2 separate regions of the Homo sapiens genome follow, and region 2 is linked to region 1. The links are contacts of gene promoters, found by promoter capture Hi-C in blood cells and fetal thymus (Javierre and others, 2016). All regions are on one chromosome and are shown on one strand. The core of a region is centred on a gene start or on the middle of the fragment in contact, and the rest is flanking DNA. Distances in the headings are between cores, read along the strand shown.

What was found. Contacts are between HindIII fragments. The CHiCAGO score rates a contact against its expected background, and 5 or more counts as called.
Region 2: a contact is called between a fragment that was not itself captured here and the fragment with the promoter of MOBP in region 1, in 2 of 17 cell types (erythroblasts and M2 macrophages). The highest score is 6.3, in erythroblasts.

What each region holds. Positions count from the first base shown.
Region 1 is chr3:39,462,878-39,469,735 of GRCh38, forward strand. MOBP (myelin associated oligodendrocyte basic protein) reads left to right here and starts at 4,803. Exons shown (of 4, transcript NM_001393704.1): 1 at 4,803-4,863. RefSeq lists an enhancer at 4,421-5,103. The HindIII fragment of the contact is 9,372 bases long and covers 3,744-6,858 here.
Region 2 is chr3:40,164,432-40,170,642 of GRCh38, forward strand. It overlaps MYRIP (myosin VIIA and Rab interacting protein), which reads left to right. Exons shown (of 17, transcript NM_015460.4): 6 at 2,415-2,512; 7 at 2,728-2,808; 8 at 5,519-5,662. Among named protein-coding and RNA genes, the nearest start is that of EIF1B-AS1, 140 kb to the right of the region's middle. RefSeq lists an enhancer at 6,177-6,211. The HindIII fragment of the contact is 4,467 bases long and covers 946-5,412 here.

The DNA of each region.
Region 1 (6,858 bases), core at 3,553-6,052:
TGGCTGACTATTAAGCAGTAATGGACAGTGCAAGATCGCCAGATAAAGAGGACAACTTTTGGTCAGAAGGGGAGAGATGGAAACAAATAACCAGGATGAAGAAACGTGGAGTAAGCAAACTGATTCAATGCAAGGAGCAAAACTAGGAGCAAAACTAACAAAGACACAAACAAAACCAAAACCAAGCAACATCCCCCAGTGTAGTAGTTACTGTTTTCCTAGTTTGCTAGTTTACAGAAAATGCTATGTGCTTTGAGAAAAGAAAAGTCAGCAAACAAGAATGAAGTCTTGAAATTTAACAATATAATTGTCAAAATGAAGTATCAAATTCAAAAAGAGGGTTATAATAAATAAAATAAGAAAACTTCATGAAAGGTAAAACAAGAAGTCAAAGAATTGGAAACTAGGAAAGAGAAGAATGAGTAACAATTTAGAAGATCAATTTAGATCGTTCAAAAGCCAAATAACAGAAATTTCAGAAACAAGAAAGAGAATGGAGAAAAATGAATTAATAAAACCAGCAACAAAAAGGAAGAATTTTTAGAGTGGAATTTTGTGAATTTCCAGATGAAAATGCTCCACCAAGTGGGGATGAAGAAACATTCACTTTGAATGGTGAAGTTTCAGAACAACTGGGGTCAAAATAAGATCTTGAACATTTCCAGAGGCTTACAAAAAATCACAGAAAAAGCAGTGGGCATCTGAAAGGTCTGGAACTCCTCAAAAACAACACTGGAGGGGAAGATACAGAAAACCAATGTATCATCCACATTGTTTTTCTAAGGGAAAATACTTTTCAACTTAGAATTCTATACACAAACAGGCAATCAAGTGTGAGGGCAGAATAAAGGAGTTTTCAGGGACGCAAACACTTAGAAAAATTCACTTAATATATACTCTTTCTAGGAAAAGTATTGTAAGGCATGCTTCAGAAAAATGAGGGAGCAAACCAAAGATGAGGATGGCATGGGATCCAGGACAAGGTGATCTCTTTCCAGCAAAGCAATGAAGGGAAGAGCCAGGGCTGCGCCGGGTCTACAGAGCAACCAGCCTGAAATCTGAATGAGATGACAGAGGATTACAGAAGACAATAGATGTGAAAGATCATTCAGTATATTGGAATGCTTAAAAATTATTAACAGATAGTTGACAGATCTGTTGGAATATTTGGAAAAAAGGATGTAGTGTAAAATTTAAAACTAAGCAGATTAAAATAAATGAATAAAATTAAAAATGGGGTGATTATTAACTCCAGGAACAAGAAATTTGTACAAAGAAAGGAAACAATTGTAGTTAATCACAAGGTTCTGAAGGAAATAATATTTACATATTTATAATAATATAAATACTAACTACATTCAGTAGGTAAGGGAAAAGGGAGAGGAAAAAGTAGAATGTAAGAAAACTATACCCTTAAGAGGAAACCAATAACCTACCATAAATAGGTATATAAATGGCTATTTGTGTGAATTATTTAGATATATGGAAATAAATAGAGAAAAGATAGCTAAGAAAAGGTTTAAAATGGTTGCCTCTGGTGGCTGGGATGTTGACTGGTGAGGCAGCATAAGGGACTATTGTTTTCCAACAGAAGCCTTTTAATATTATTATAACTTTGCACAAGTGTTATTTTGATAAATGTAGAAACCAATTGAAATAGTACTTATTGTCACTGTGGCGTATTAGTTTGTTAGGGCTGCTGAAGTAAAGTACCACCAACTGGGTGACGTACACAACAGAAATGAATTGTCTCACAGTTCTCAAAACTTGAAGTTTGAGGTCAAGGTATGGGCAGGGCTGGTTTCTTCCGAGGGCTGTGAATGAAGGATCTGTTCCAGGCCTCCTTCCTTGGCTTGTGGATGACCATCTTCTCCCTGTGGCTTCACATTGTCCTCCCTCCAAATGTGTCTTTCTGTCCAAATTTCTTCTTTGTGTAAGGACACTAGTCATGTTGCATCAGAGCCCACCCTAATGACTTCATAACTTGATCACCTCTGTGGTCTGTCTTCAAATCCTTATTTGAATCCAAATTCTTTTTTTTTTTTTTTTTTTGAGACAGAGTCTTGCTCTGTCACCCAGGCTGGAGTGCAGTGGTGCAATCTTGGCTCACTGCAACCTTTGCCTCTCAGGTTCAAGCGATTCTCGATTCTCAGCCTCCTGAGTAGCTGGGAATTAAAATCCTCTGTAATGTTAGGCACATGCCACCACACCTGGCTAATTTCTTTGTATTTTTAGTAGAGATGGGGTTTTGCCCTGTTGGCCAGGCTGGTCTCAAATTCCTGGCCAAAGTGCTGGCCTTACCGGAGTGAGCCACTGCACCCGGCCTCATTCCAAATTCTGAGATACTAAGGGTTAGGACTTCAACAAAGGAATTTGAGAGATGAGGGATGGGACACATTTTAACTCATAACATGTGGGGATTGTCAATTGTAGCCAAAGTTTCTGTGGGAAAATCCTCTGTAGTGTTAGCAAGTTTCTTAATTGTGACTGTGAGTCCTGGGAGGTCTTGCTCTGTGTGGAACACAGGCTGCCATTCAAGAAGAGTGACACTGACTCAGACGTGGCCTCCCCAGTGGTTCTGGGAGTGAGGGTGCCACCGCACTAAGGGCAAACACTAACATTTAAGTAGAAATAGAAAAAGATGGCATTACAAGCATTTTGTGGAACCTCCATACTTTGGTTGTGTAAATTGTATATCACTCTATATATGGTGGAGTAGAAGATCAAAGATGGGACTTCCCCAAAATGTGTCATTAAGAACTTTTGTTGGAAAGATTTGAGAAGCAGAGGGTCTTTTAATAAAGATAGAGCTTTATAATATATCTACTAGATCTTGTATTTTTTAAATAGCCTGAATTAGTCTCCAGTTATTTTGTGAATAGAAAACAAGTCCTTACAACTGCCACCCACCCCTGTTGGTAACCTTCTTTAGGGCCAGGGCCATAAGAGTGACATTGGTGCAGGACTCTGTGTGCCAGGCATTCTTTCCACCAGTGAACACATATTAACTGATTTAGTCCTCACTCAAATCCTTGAGGTGGGTCCTGTGATGATCCTAGTGTCAGTGCCTCCAGAGCTCAAGCTCTAAACCATCTTACCCTACTCCCCAGCCCTCAGTCACAGTCAGTACAACACAAGCAAAATACTGGCATCACAGTGGGAGTGAATCAACCAGCATACGTCTATAACTCATTACTCAGAGAATGTTTAATTAACTATAAAGTTAGTATACGAAGAGGCCAGGCACGGTGGCTCAAGCATGTAATCCCAGCACTTTGGGAAGCCAAGGCAGGCGGATCACCTGTGGTCAGGAGTTTGAGACCAGCCTGGGCAACATGGCGAAACCCTGTCTCTACTAAAAAATACAAAAATTATTCAGGCATGATGGTGGGTGCCTGTAGTCCCAGCTGCTCGGGAGGCCGAGGCAGAAGAATAGCTTGAACCCAGGAGGTGGAGGTTGCAGTGAGGTGAGAGCGCCACTGCACTCCAGCCTGGGGGACAGAACCAGATTCCGTCTCAAAACAAAAACAAAAACAAAAATGTTAGTGTACAAAGAGATTTATAGTCAATGTTTGTAGTCTCACTGGATTACCTTTTCAAGGTTCCCTGGCTGATTCTTTACTGAGACAAGAGCCTAAAGAGAAACTTGGTGGTAATGTTGACATTTATATTACACTGTCATGGAGGGGGCGCTGGGAATTCAAAAGGCAAGGCTGCTGTTGGTTGGATTGGTTTCAGAAGTAAGCTTTCATCTTTCAAATCATTAGTGGGTAGTTCTAGTTCTACATATATAAAATAAATAGCAGAAGCAGAGTTACAGGACCCATGGCATTTAACAGAGCACAGAAAGGTGTGGCCCCACATTTTAGGTTAGGAAAATTATAAGAAAATGCCGGTGTCTAAGACTGAAGCCAATAAAATGTTAATTGAATGAGATTTATCATTCGCAGAAACTGTTCAACATAAGAGATGATTTATACGTGTTTTCATAAATGTGAATGCATAGGGTAATTGTCATGGAAACTTCCAAATTCAATGTTAGTTGTAACTAGACTGGATTAGACTCTTGCTAATCAAGTGTACAAGGGCATGCTTGTGTGAATTTTAGTTTTGGGGTGTATCTATGGGTATACATGAGTGTTTTAGGGAAGGAAGTGTGATCGGTATTTAATCTACATGGAGTATAAAAACTCCTGGAATTTGTCAATGTGATTGCAGCTGTGTTCATGGCTTATGGGTATGGCTTGTGATGTGTGAGTGAGGTATGGGGTGCTGGGTGGGATGGCGCTGTGGTGGCATAGCATGTTGGTGGAAGGGTGTGTGGTTTGGTAGGGTGAGCTGGTGTGTGGTGTGGTTGGACCTGGCATGGAACTTAACTGGAGTTTATGTGGAATGAACCTTGAGGGGTGAGTTTTCACATGGGGTGTTGATTATGTGGGAGGTGGGAGGCTGGAATATGTGAATGTTGGGGGGCTGTAGAGTGAATGTGGGGTGCGTGTGTATGTGTGTGTGAGATATGGTTATAGCTTAGCTTAGCTTTTGTTTAGATTTTCTTTTGCTCTTTGTTTTTGTCTTTGGCCTTTGTTTTATCTTTGTTTCGCTCTTTGTTTAAACTTTCTTTGGCTTTTGTTTGGTCTTTCTTTAGCCTTTTGTTTAAACTTTGTGTGGCCTTTTTGTAGTCTTTGTGTAGCTTTTGTTTTTAAGTGGATCTTCGCTGAGGACTCATCAAAAACACCTTGTGTAATGAAAAACCCAGATCTATAACCTCTCCCTATATATTCTGCATGCATTGAAGTAGGCTCAAACCCTCAGGGACCTGGTATAGACGCAGAATCTGTTTCACACAACAACTGCTATTTGAAGGTAAGAGGATTCCATTGGTTTTTATTTTACTTCATTTTATACTTTCATCTTTAAATGACAAGTGTACTTTTTTGTATGGGCCATTTCATTATATCCCAGGGAAAACTTTCTGTAAGAATAGTCAAGATTGAGAGGACATACAAGGATGGAGAAAACAAGAACAGAGGACACCATGTTTATTCTGATGTGGGCAGGGGGCCTCCTGGAATGTTCCTGCTAATGTTTGGAAATCGTCTGAGCCCAGAGAGAGGCTCTGAGCCCTTACTCAGATTTCCTCAGATTCAAAGCCCCATGTTCCTGGAGCTAGATGGATGGTAGTACATGCTGCTGCTGCTGCTGCTTTTTTTTTTTTAATTTATTTCTTCTTTTATTATTTGTCATGATTTAAAAATGAGTTTTTCTTCTTATCTAGGAACAATTTTTTTCCTCATACAGTTGGATTTATGTGTGGGGGATCTTAATGGAACAACAAAGCCCAAATCTTTTCGGAATTCTGCCCCCTGTAGACCAACAACCTTAAATGGAAAGGCGCTAATGCTTTGTCTGATACAGAATATCTTAGAAACAACAGGGAGTTTTCAGTTCTATGGATGACAGAGAAAGGAAAAAATATTATGTGTCAGGGAGGCGAGTAATGAACTTGGCCTACAGTACTAGCAGGAAAACGGGGAAAGGACTTTTTAATTCTTTGTGAATAAATCAGGGAGGCAGAGAGCAGGCTGCTGCCAGGTGTGCGGATATGCTGTTTCGTATTTAGAATGACAGGAAACTTGTTGGTGAGTGAGTTTTAAAAATTGTTTCAGATTTTCAGAAAAGTTGCAAACAATACAGAAAATTTCAGGTGCAGCCAAATTACCCAGATGTTCCTGTTTTACCATATTTCCTTTATCATTCTCTTTCTCTCTCTCTGTATCCATACATATGGGTGTATATATAAAAATATGTGTGTGTATATACATATATACATATGTGTGTGTATATACATATATACATATGTGTGTGTATATATACATATATACATGTGTGTGTATATATACATATATACATGTGTGTGTATATATACATATGTGTGTGTATACATATTACATATGTGTGTATATATACATATATACATGAGTGTGTATATATACATATATACATATGTGTGTGTATATATACATATATACATATGAGTGTGTATATATACATATATACATTGTGTGTATATATACATATATACATATGTGTGTGTATATATACATATATACATATGTGTGTGTATATATACATATATACATATGTGTGTATATATATACATATATACATATGTGTGTGTATATACATATATACATATGTGTGTGTGTATATACATATATACATATGTGTGTGTATATATACATATATACATATGTGTGTGTATATACATATATACATATGTGTGTGTGTATACATATATACATGTGTGTGTGTGTATATACATATATACATGTGTGTGTATATACATATATACATATGTGTGTGTATATATACATATATGTGTGTGTATATGTATAGATATATATACATATGTGTGTATATGTATATATACACATATTTATATCTAATTAATTTTAATTAAAATTTATTTTAATTGGAATTAACTAAAATTTATTTTAATTGGAATTAATTAAAATTTATTTTAATTGGAATTAATTAAAATTTATTTTAATTGGAATTAATTAAAATTAGAAAATTACTATTGAGAAAATACTGTTTTTAAATCTAGAGATATCTAGATTTCATCAATTGTCCAAGGAGCGAATTGAGAACCATGCATGACCTTTTGTTGTCCTGTCCCCTCAGCCTCCTTTAGTCTGGAACCACACCTGAGGCAGCTTTGACCTAGACAGTTTTGGAGAGTATAAGCCAGTTATTTTGCTAAATGTCCCTCAATATGGGTTTGGTCTGCAGTTTTCTCACAATTATGCAGTTTTCAAAGGAATAGGCTTGCATTTTAGATCATACATATCCAAATTC
Region 2 (6,211 bases), core at 1,929-4,428, 700 kb after region 1:
GCTGAATTTCTCCTCTAGGAAACTTCAGTTTTTGCTCTTAAGGCCTTTCAGTGGATTGAATGAGACACACCCACATTGTGGAGGGCAACCCTTACATGAAGTCAACTGACTGTAGATGTTAACCACATCTAAAGAATACCTTCATGGCAACACCTGGACTAGTGTTTGATTAAATAACTGGGTACTATAGCCTAGCCACGTTGACACATTGACCATCCCACCATCTAGCTGGTCTTCTGAACTTTGGCCACCTTGCCTTCTTAATCTTCCCTCCTACCCTTGCCAACCTTTCTCTCTGAAACACTGACCTGAACCTTCACTTTTTACCCAGTGTTCCACATCACTTTCATCCAAGAATTATAATCATAGCATCCAAAGCCTTCCTAGTTACAGCTCCAGGTGCCTACCTTCCAGGGATCCACACAGATATCTCTATCACACAGATAGTTATGCATATCTCTTAGGGGTTACTTATGTGTCTAATCACCCAATATCTTGGAAGGTACATGAGAGCATGGACTCAGTTTGTCCATCAGGTTATCACTGGGGCCATCACAGAGCCTAGCACACAAACGGTACTCAGTAAACATTTGTTTGATTCAACAAAAATTTGTAGATCTTTTCTGTGAAAAATACATCGGTGGCTATCTTGAAGAAGAGAGAGGGGAGATACAGTGTCTACCACCAGGGAGCTCTTAGTGTGATGACAACTTATATCGCATAGGCTCTAGTTATCAAAACATTGGAAAGACTGTGCAACCTGGTGGTGTGCAGAGCCCTGGGCTGGGTTGCCCCTACGTGGCTCTATCATGACTGTCATAGCTGGCTTGTGACATACTCATCAGCTAGCTAGATCACTTTGACCTTAAGTGGATTGTTTAGAGGCTTTATTATGTTTGCCAAATGATACTTTCTGTCTACATTTTTGTCCTTAAGAGCCTAAGAAGCTTGAATTATTTTTTAATTGAGTAATTAATGAATTGATATATTCACACCCTGTCTCATTCCACAAAGAATTTTCAACAGCTTACAGGAGATTTGCATGTGTTAAATAATATATGAGTAGGAGATTATAAATGGAAACAGGAGGTTGAAATTGGGGACAAGGAGACCCAGGTACCTAGCCCTTGCTGACCTACATTCCTGCACATGATGTGACTTGGACTTCTGGGGAAAACTAAGAGAAGGATGATAGAAATTCTCACAAGTAAGAAGCTAAAATCTAGGATCTCAAGGGAAACAGAACTTTTCCCAGCACTTAGCTCCAAAAAGAACTTTGTCACCTGGGGAAGTCCTTTATTTTCTCTCATTTGTTGCCATATCTTAAAAAAAAAAAAAAAAAGTTCACTAAAAGTATGGTAGCACTATATTTTTTAATCACGTTAGCTTGTATTCATCTCAGTTTTGTGGTTAAAATCAAGGGCTTTGGATTAGAAGGAATTTGGAATGGAATCCAAATTCAAATTCAGAGGAATTGGAATCCAGCTGGATTCAAATCTTTGCCTTCTTATTGTCTTGCTGTGTACCTTGGGTGAGTTATTTAACCACTCTGTGCTTCAAATTTACCATCTGTAAAATAGTACCTATATGGCACCTACTTACCACTGGATTTTTGTCAGAATTAACTGTGATCATGTGAAACTCTGGGCTTGGTGCCTGCCATGTGGCTGAGCTCTGAGGTTGGCCAGTGTTGTTAATACTGGTTGATAGTCCAAAAAATTATACCATAGAGTTTATATTTGCATTAAGTCATATGCACAGCCCATTGTCCTTAGTACATTTAATAACATTTTCCCCATCATCACAATATACATTATATGAACAAAATAAAGCATAATCTTTATCTGAGAAAGTAGATAAAGAACCATTATTTCCTTATATGAAGCCCTTTTGTTCAGTCACCTTTAAGCCATTCTGTGTGCTTAGACCAGTGCTTCATGTTAGGATACAACAATGAATATGATCAATTCTTGCTCTGTGAAAATGACCTGTGGGAAGGGGCCGGGGGTATGGAGCCTTTTTGGATGATGAAAGCAAGCCCAGAACCTGGGACAGACCTCCAGCCAAGGGCGGGGCTGAAGGGATCCGAGAAGATTTGTTAGAGGAGGAATTTTTGGGCCAAGCCTTGGGGTCCGTGGGAACCAGCTCAGTTATGGAGCAAGAGTCTAGGAGGGAGGAGGAATGAGATTGCAGGCATGAAAGAATCAAACAATTTGTTGCAACTGGGGCATGGGATGTGAATGATGCATGGGAGGCAGTGTGAGGCAGGTGGGAAGGGCGAGGGCTTTGTGTGCCATGGTAAACAGCTTAGAACTTATCCCAGAGCCCCTGAAGAATTTAAGCAGAAGAGCTTGAACAATCGTTTTACTCATCATTCCCTTTTAGAAATGCTCTTTGTTCTGTTTCCTGTCTAGGACATAGTGTGATGGACACCTTGGCTGTGGCCCTACGGGTGGCTGAAGAGGCCATTGAGGAAGCAATTTCCAAAGCAGAGGCATATGGGGACAGCCTGGTAGGGCCCCTCCTGCTCCTCTCTGTGGGGGGAGGTGTGGGTTGGGGTCCTTGCTGCCAGGAGAAAGTGCAGGTTGTCAGGAAATCAATGTCCCAGCAGCTCTGACTAGAGCAAGGCCCTCCCTCTGCTTTTGTGGTCAGGACTCTCCTGGCAAAGTGACTGCCAAGTCACCCCAAATCCACCCACAGCACACAGCCATTCTCTTCCCTCCTCAGGACAAGCAAAATGAGGCCAGTTACCTGCGGGACCACAAGGAGGAGCTAACTGAGGAACTGGCCACGACAATCCTGCAGAAGGTAGGTGGGTCCTGGCAGTGGGATGGCTGCAGTTTCCTGGCTGGGCCTGGTGCAGGGACTCTGGCAAGTAGCAGGTGAAACATGGGGAGTGTCTCTAGCACTGTATCTTCTGTGCCTTCTCACTTTAGACTTTTGTGCCCTGGGGACCCATGCAGAGGGAATGCATCGCACTGCTTGCTTGCTTTGCAGTCACTGCTGCTAGCTCCATGCCCTACGCTGTCCCTTGCATGGTGTACCTGTCAATTACTTCTGAGAAACCAAACACCCCAAAACTCTGTGGCTTTTGACAAGGATCTTTCTGTCTTCCACAGCCAATTCTCCAACACCAACTGAGAAGTGAAATTCCATTCTGATACTAACTTCTTCCTGGAGTTAGTGCAGACCCCACAAGTTAAGGGCCCAGTCCCACAAGACTGCCCCTACTTCAGACACCAGCCACAAGTTTCAGGTATCCCAAAGCCACCACACTTCTCCCTAGCCTGCTGCAAATTTGGGAGTTTCCATGACCGTGGACCCTCAATTCAATTATTTGCTAGAACTCACAGAACTCAGGAAAGTGCTTTACTTACCATTACCGGTTTAATATAAAGGGTACAGGTGAACGGCCAGATGAAGAGACACACAGAGCAGCAGGGTCTGGGGACAGGGTGTACAGAGCTTCCATGCTCTCTCTGTGAACATCACTCCCCCAACACATCGATGTATGCACCAACAAGGAAGGTTTCTGTGCCTTGTTGTATCAGAGTTTTTAGCCAGGTTTCAGTATGTAGGCAGGATTGATTAAATGATTGATTACCTGATTGAATGCACTCTCTAGTCTTTCTGCTCCCAGCCCTCTAATCATGTACTGTAGTTGGTTTTTCTGGCAACCTGCCCCCATCCTGAAGTTATCTAAGGACCTCACCTTGAATCACCTTGTTAGTGTAACAGACACTCCTATCACTCAAATAATTGCAAAGGTTTTTGAAACTGTGCCAGGAACTGGGGACAAAGACCAAATACAGATGCTCCTGAGCTTACAGTGGATGGGGTTAAGTCCAGATAGTAACCGCATCCTAAGTTGAAAGTATCATAAGTCAAAATGCATTCAATACACCTAACCTACTCTTAATATATCATAGCTTAGCCTAGCCTATCGTAAATGTACTCAGAACTTGCATTAGCCTATAACTGGGCAGAATCATCGAACTCAAAGCCTATTTTATAACAGTGTTTATTAGCTCATATAATTTATGGAATGCTGCACTGAACACACACCGCTTTCCCACCATCGTAAAGTCCAAAAATCTTAAATCAAGGACTATCTGTATATATGTTTTGTTATACCACAATTTATTTATTGCTCACACATCTGCAGTAGCTGCACTTCAAGCTATGGGTTGGGACAAAGTCAGGTGCAGCATGTTCACTCTGGGGCCCAACTGAGGGCACATCAGCTGCCTGTGGCCATGACAGGAGCACAAGCCAGCAAGAGGAAGCACACAGTGCTTGTTAAGGCCAAGGCTTAGCTCTAGCTTATGGTTACTGACTCCCCCCTCTCATCTCATTGGCCAGAGCAAGTCACACATCGAGCCCAAAGCCAAGGGCTGGGACGTAGATTCTCCCTATACTGGGAGGGTCTGCAGAGTCACACTAGAAAGTGCCGTATGCAGGAAGTGTTGAAAAACTTCAGTCTTCCCTTTTGGTCACGATAATTCACATCCCTTCCGTATGCCAAGTAGACTCACCACACCCAAAGACCCCCAAATGTCTCATCCAATCACAGTTCAAAGTACATTTGATCCAATTTTAGCTCCTTTTTAGCTGGAGATCTGTAAACTAAGCAAACAAATGATCTCCCCCCATATACCCAACATGCAATGTTGGAAGAGGGACAGGGAGGCAGCACTGGCCCTACCCACCTGCAGAGGGGAAGAATGGGAGGCACCGGCAGTCACTGGTCCTCAGCAATTCTGAAATCCTGCTGGGCAACATGGCTGGGTCCCCACCCTGCCATGGGAGATGGCACCTCAGTTGATTGTTCTCTGGGCTCTCAGCCTTCCTTTTCATCCTCCTGTCTGGCCTAAAGGAACATTGGAGAATATGCCCATCTTGGTGGCTTAGCACATTTCTTGACTGCTTCCTGCCTATAGGAAGTTGAAAGCCCAGAGACCTTGGTACGGATGGACTCACTAAATCCAAATGACTGTGCAAACGAGCTGGATTTGGAGCCATTCTGGTGACTCTTGGTGTCTACACCCTTGATAGGGCTTCCAGATGCTTCCTAAATTCAGGACTTACAACCAGAGGCTCTGGGTTTGAGATCCAGCTCCACCATTTATGAGCTGTGTAGCCTTATCCAATAACTTAGTCTCTCTGAGCCTGTTTCCTCATCTATAAAATGGAAAGAATTAGAATATGTACCTTCCAGAATTAAGTGAGGTAAAGCCTACACAATACCTAACATGAGGTCTGACACATGCTAGGCACTTAATAAATAGAGAAGCTGTTAACATCATAAAAGGATTATTTGTAAACTGTAAAATGCTTAGAATGCTCAAGGCTATAATTGTGCTGGTTTCTCATAGCGCAGATCTGAAACAGCCTGGTGTTCTGTTGAAATTAAGCTTATAAGTGGCTGAAAAAAATTCCAAAGATGGTCCCAGTTACTCCACATAGCATCAGGAGGCCTCTCCAATAACTTGCCCCTTTTTTGTCCTCCCCTCCCCAGATTATACGAAAACAGAAGAGCAAAAGTGAGCAGCAAGTGGAAGAAGAGCCAGGATGGCCACATCCCCAGAGTTGCAGCACAAAGGTGGCAGATGAGGGGACCTCAGCATCCCCTGGAGGCTACCGTGCTCCCGCTGCCCTCTGGGTGAGTCCCCAAGCAGTGCTGGTCTACCCTCCACACGTGCAGGTCTGGGGCACACATTTAACCCTCTGTAGTTGAATCAGGTGGCCACTGGCCAGGGTAAAAATTTCAGAAGGATGGGGAGCGAAATTGAAAGAGAAAGTGAGTGTGAGTCGGGGGCCAGGAAGGGTAAGAGAGGAGAGAAAAACACAAATGGTCTATTGATAATTATAGAGATAGATTTTACACAGAGACCAATTTAGGAAAAATACAAATGCTGATAGGCTGCATTTTTTTTTCATTCTGAAAAGAATTATACTGAGTCCAGTGGGGGAAAATAGCTTTATAAGGACCATGTGTACTCTTATAACCTAGATTGCTTGCTTTACTGAAACTGAAAAGTGACAGCGAGAAAATTACCACTGCTGTTTCAACCACCAAAATGGTCACATCTGGACACAGGAAGTCACAGTGTGGAGCCAACCTTTCTGTCTGTCACCTTGAGTCACAGAGCTCAGTGGTCTTTCCACAACCAAGGGTTTGGTGCTGTTCCTGTCTGCAGTAGAGTTGCTG